2 separate regions of the Homo sapiens genome follow, and region 2 is linked to region 1. The links are contacts of gene promoters, found by promoter capture Hi-C in human tissues and cell types (Jung and others, 2019). All regions are on one chromosome and are shown on one strand. The core of a region is centred on a gene start or on the middle of the fragment in contact, and the rest is flanking DNA. Distances in the headings are between cores, read along the strand shown.

What was found. Contacts are between HindIII fragments. The study calls those that stand out against the background at their distance.
Region 2: a contact is called between a fragment that was not itself captured here and the fragment with the promoter of TEX30 in region 1, in 1 of the 25 tissues and cell types used here (IMR-90 fibroblasts).

Annotation. Positions count from the first base shown.
Region 1 is chr13:102,772,299-102,775,482 of GRCh38, forward strand. It overlaps TEX30 (testis expressed 30), which reads right to left and starts at 1,488. Exons shown (of 6, transcript NM_138779.5): 1 at 1,384-1,488. RefSeq lists enhancers at 1,243-1,920, 1,921-2,598 and a silencer at 1,321-1,660. The HindIII fragment of the contact is 8,936 bases long and covers 1-3,184 here.
Region 2 is chr13:102,710,040-102,712,908 of GRCh38, forward strand. No RefSeq gene overlaps it. Among named protein-coding and RNA genes, the nearest start is that of METTL21C, 16 kb to the left of the region's middle. The HindIII fragment of the contact is 5,904 bases long and covers 1-2,869 here.

The DNA.
Region 1 (3,184 bases), core at 238-2,737:
CGCCCGCTTATTATTTTTAAATGTTTTTGTAGAGACGAGGGTCTCCCTATGTTTCGCAGGCTGGTCTTGAACTCCCGGGCTCAAGCGATACCCCCTGCCTTGGCCTCCCAAACCGTTGGGATCCCAAGGCGTTTGCCACCTCTCCCGGTCTGCTTTACTTCTTTTCAGACTTCACGATGCACAGTGTGTTCTTCACGGCAGCTGCACACATGCTGGTTTTCTTCAGAAACACGGAAAATGCCCCATAATGCAATCCCCAAGCAACCTGCTCTAGGTCATCTGGGTTTGTTTTTTTGAGACAGAGTCTTGCTCTGTCCCCCAGGCAGGAGTGCAGCGGCGCGATCTCGGCTCACTGCAGCCTCTGCCTCCCGGGTTCAAGAGATTCTCCAGCCTCAGCCTCCCGAGTAGCTGAGATTACAGGCGTCCGCCACCGCGCCCAGCTAATTTTAGTAGAGACGGGGTTTCACCATGTTGGCCAGGCTGGTTTTGAACTCCTGACCTCAGGTGATCCACCCGCCTCGGCCTCCCATGGTGCTGGGGTCAGGCGTGAGCCACCGTGCCAGGCCACTGTCGTCTGGGTTTTCATCTCTGGCTTCAGGTTCAGAGAGGGCAGGGTTTGAAGCCTGGCCCGGCCTCAGTGCCCTCAATGGCGATGGTGAAGATGACCGGCTAGAGGTGCTGCGCCCACGAAACGCCAGCTCTAGTGGCGTCCGGAGCGCCGGCTCCACCGGCTAGGCGGTCGGCGGAGTTCTAGGACGACAACTACTCACAAGGGCTGGGCGATCACCTCCCACGCCACGGGACGGAGACGCCACAGCCCCTTCAACTTTCAGTTACAAACGTTCGTGCCCTGTTACGTCCACAGCATTAAGCTGGCTGTCGTGGGGCAAACAAAAACGTTGAGTCCGAGTCTTACGGGGGGTCGGGTCAACAACCCCAGCAAACATGGAGAGAAAATTCAAAGCGGGTCTCACGGGCGTGCGGGGCTCGGCGGCGCTCGGGGCACGGGATCCGTTCTCTCCGCAAATGCGCGCTGCCGGGGCTGCGCCGCGGGCTGCCCCGGTCGACCCCTCTCAACTCCGAGGCTACTTCGAGCCAGTCACCCGGGACTGGCTGACGTGGTCCAGGTTGGCCCCGTCCGGCTCTCCCCGCCCGTACCAACCCCACATTCCGCCCTCCTACCCGGCAAAGCGGACGAAGCCCCCACCGGCTGGTGCCCGCGGGCACCGAACTTAGCGGAACGCCTCCCGGCTCGGACCAGACGCCCCTGAGGAGTGACGCCCGCGAGCCTCAAACGTCTCAGGCGGGCCTGCCGGGTGCTCTCCCCGTCTCCCAGGAAGCCGCCCGTCAGCCGGCGGCGCCAACCGCCACCGCCGCACTTACCCGGGAAGGCAAAAGTGGCCGCGGGCACCCAACCGCCGTCACTCCCTTCAGGGAGCTGACTAGCGCGCTCGAAGCGACCGCCTCGCCTGCCCCGCCACAGCGTTCGGCTACGACGCACGCGCGCGCAGGCCACGCCCCCCGGGTGCGCGGGCCGGGCCGCAGAGCACGCCGGGAGCGTGGGTCTCCCAGCCCGCCACATCCCAGGGCTGTACGCGCGGACTAGCGGAGCTAGGGGAAGGTGCCAGGGTGGCCGCCGCCTCAGTAGCACGCGGACGGCTGGAAAGTCAGCCCCCGTTTCCGCCTCACCCAGGATTGCTCCACTCGGGGCCTTTCCGCATCCCAGCCACCACTCCATTCCGAGGCGCGATCAGCTCTGACCAGTCTTCCTCACACCCATAGTCGATTCGTTACTCCCGTTAAGGTCAAACGCTGACAGAAACCAGCCGCTTCGCACACTTCTACATGGGGTCAAGCCCCCTGTTATCTTTGCGGGGATGATTGTAACAATCACTTAAATGGTCGCTTCGTACCATCTTGCCCCCGCCTGGGCCTTGTCGGCGACGCCGCAGCCACGTGGATGCTGTGGAAGCCTGTCCCCTGGATCTTCCAAAGGCTCCGCGCTCATTGCCACAGCCAGCGGCCGGCAGTGGCCTAGGCTGTTGCACGCGATCGGTCCCCCACATCTCCCCTCTCCATCTGGCTCCTTTCCCTGGAAGCCCAGGGCAGCCCACACTTCGCTGTCCTCACCCCCACTCACCAGGCGGGACCCCACGACGACCGGCTTTTGTCCTGGCTGCTCCCTCCCAGCGTGGGCCGCGTCTCCTCGGGGTCGACAGGGCGCGTGGTTTTCACAGCGAGGCCTCCCCTGATCACCTCCCCGCTCTTCCTGTCCTTCCCCGGTCACCTCACGAGCTATGGATGTATCTGTGTCTCCTCACTGCGCTATAAGCTCCCAGGTGAAGAAAGGGTTGCTTTTTGTAAATTTTTGTTTTAACCGTGAACCTCTTGTGTATGAATAATGCTCAGAAAAAAAAAAATTTCTTAAATGAATGAATCTTCCCCAAGCCCAGTGCAGTTGGCACCTGCCCTCTTTTCTGTCACGGTACATACAAGGAAATACATTCCACAAAACCACATAGTCGCTGTCATTTATCACAAGTGTTTCCCCAAATTACAAAGTCTTAATACTTCTTTGTCTCCTAATTTTTTAGCTGTGTTTTTAAAAAACATTTCTTTACATGCCATAAAATTCACTCATTTGAAGTGTACCATTCAATCATTTTCAGTAATTTTAAAACCATTTGCAACCATCACTATAATTTAAGAACATTTCCATTATCCCCCTGAAAAGTATTTGCACAGTTATAGTTGAGGTAGGAGATCAGCAGGACTTTCCAAGCACTGATCACCACCTGCTGAGCAAAACAGGATCTGGTCAGAACAGGATGCCCTAAAAAAACGGCCAAAACTGCCCTAAAGAAACAGGCCCAAGCCAGCTAAAACCAGGATGGTGACCAAAGTGACCTCTAGTGCCCTCACTGCTCATTATACACTAATTATAATACATGAACATGCTACAACACTTCCACCAGCACTCTGACAGTTTACGAATGCCATGGCAATGCCCAGACCTTACCTTATATGGTTTAAAAACGGAAGAATTCTCAGTTCCGGGGAACTCCCCACCCCTTTTCTAGAAAATTCGTGAATAACCCACCCCTTATTTAGCGTACGATGAAGGAGTAGGTATAAATATAGCTAGCCAGTGGCCGGGTGCCCTGGCGCATGCCTGTAATCCCAG
Region 2 (2,869 bases), core at 237-2,736, 62 kb before region 1:
GGCTGGAAAATGGAATTTGGACAGCCTGGCCCCAGCAGCATCTCGGCTGTACACAAAACAGTGGGCACAAGCCCTCTGAGGGAAATTTTATCTCCTATTCACCACCTGAGGCGAAGCTGTGGCTCCATGGGGCCCTCACTTTACAGAGGTTCCCCTAAATGCATGGGCCTGGGTCACTGATGGTTTTTCCAAGCTGAACCCCAGTGGTGTCCCCTGAGCTGCTGTGACTACACAGATCCAAAAACAGATGTGAGCTGTCTGCTCAGAAGGCAGAATGCATGGCTGTTCTTGCAGGTCTGGCCAAGACTGCCCTTGATGCAACTTGCCCTATTTTTAGTCATTCTTGGGCTGTTGTCAACGGCTAAGCATTTGGTCAGCCACTTGGAAAACTACAGATTCCAGATGAACAGCATCCCGTTTGCAGGTCACAAACTGTGGAAACAAATCGTGACTGCTGAGAGAAACATCTGGGTCACTCACATAGATGGAAATGATCAAGGCCCCTTCTCTGATGAGACCGATTAGAGCCAAGCTGCCGGTGGAGCCTGCACTAAGCAGATGGCCACGTTGCTCTCTGGACCCATCGCTGTGCTGGATGTGGGAACGCACCCACCACTGTGGATGGCACAACGTGCAGGACTCCATGTTTATGATGCGGGGGCTCCCACTGGAGCTCCTGCCACAAGTTGACCTACTTGTCTCACAATGGTGTGGCCTCGTGGCAGGGATGCTTTCCCTGCTGCCGCCCACAGCCTGACCTTTGGGCCCTTCATGGGACTATGGTGGTGCCCTGCTACTCTTGACACCTTTTCAGGTGGTGGTGTTATTGTTCTAGTTCCATTAACCAACTCTGGCCACATCATTGTGGCCCTTGAAGATAATCTTTGCCATATTTTCAGCTCTGTGAACCACCAGCAAATAGCTACTTGATGGCCCTTTCTCTCCTTACCACCCACAGGCATCTGATGTTGTTGATCATTGGAGCAGCCTCCTAAAAACTTGATTTAAAAGATTTCTGACCGTATTCCTGGTCCACACTCCTTAGCCAGGTAGTTTGGTCATGTACGTGGCTCATTATTGACTGAAATGCCATTATAGGCCACACTAATAAAAGACACAAAGTTGACTTAAACAATTGGAAAAACATAATACGTTCTTGATAGGAGGACTTAATTCCTTAAGATGTAATTTCCCCCTTACTATATAAATTTGATGCAATTCCATTAAAAACGCTGATTTTGCCCTCTGGAGCTAGATTATAGGGTTTGTATTTTAAAAAAAATTAATAGGCTAGGCAAGGTGGCTCATGTTTATAATCCCAGCACTTTGGGAGGCCAAGGCAGGTGGATCACTTGAAGTCAGGAGTTCAAGATCAGCCTGGCCAACATGGCTAAACCTTGTCCCTACTGAAAATACAAAAATTAGCTGGGCGTGGTGGTGCACGCCTATAACCCCAGACACTTGGGAGGCTGAGGCAGGAGAATCGCTTGAGCCTGGGAGGCAGAGCCTGCAGTGAGCCAGGATCATGCCACTGCACTCCATCCTAGACGACAGAACGAGACTCTGTCTCAAAAAATAAATGAATAAATAAGTAAAATTAATAAACAAGACTATCAAAGAAAATTTTGGAAAAAGCGCAATGTGGGAGGCTAATCCCATCAGTTATTTAAAACATTATAAAACTTCTATATTCAAAGCTTCATGGTATTGATATGTGATAGAAAAACAGGCCAAAGTTCGCATTTGAATAGCACAACTGGAAACAGACATATATGGTTATGGAAGTTTAATAAATAGTGAAGGTATTATCTCAAGTCATGGGGAAGTTTTGAATTATTTCATAAATAATATTGAGCTATGTGGGAAAAAATACACAGGAATAAATTCCAAATGGATGAAATCTAAATGTAAATAATGTAGCTATAAGTACTAGAAGGCATGTGTTAATTTCTTTATGACTTGAGAATTAAGAAAACTTTTTAAACCATCATTAAAAATCCAAAACCAATGTCTAAAAGATGTACAAATTTTGGCTGAGCATGGTGGCTTACACCTGTAATCCGAACACTTTTGGAGACCAAGGCAGGAGAATCCACTGAGCCCAGAAGCTGGAGACCAGCCTGGGCAACATGGCAAGACCTTATCTCTACTAAAAATTATAAAATTAGCCAGGAGTGGTGGCATGCACCCATAGTCCCAGCTACTCAGGAGGCTGACACAAGAGGATTGCTTGAGCCGAGGAGTTTGAAGTTGCAGTGAGCTATGATTTACCCCACTGCACTCCAGTCTAGGTAATGGAGCAAGACTCTGTCTCAAAAACAGGTATAAATTTGACCACATAAAATTTAAATAATACTGTATGACAAAAAATTCAGATGCAAGGCTGGGTGCAGTGGCTCACGCCTGTAATTGCAGCACTTTGGGAGGCCGAGGAGGGTGGATCACCTGAGGTCAGGAGTTCAAGACCAGCCTGGCCAACACGGTGAAACCCCATCTCTACTCAAAATACAAAAATTAGCCGGGTGTGGTGGCACACACCTGTAATCCCGGCTACTCAGCAGTCTGAGACAGAAGAATGGCTTAAACCCAGGAGGTGGAGATTGCAGTGAGCCAAGATCGTGCCACCGCACTCCTGCCTGGGTGACAGAGTGAGATTCCATCTAAAAAAAATTCAGATGCAAGATCACAAGATAAATTAACAAACTAGGAAAAGATATTTGCAATTTAAGTCTCTGATAAAGGGCTAGATCTCTGTTCAAGGTGAGATTTGGGTGGGGACACAGAGCCAAACCATATCAGTCTCTGAAAAGTTGTTTAAAAAATGTACATCAAGACCATCCTGGCTAACACGGTGAAACCCCGTCTCTAC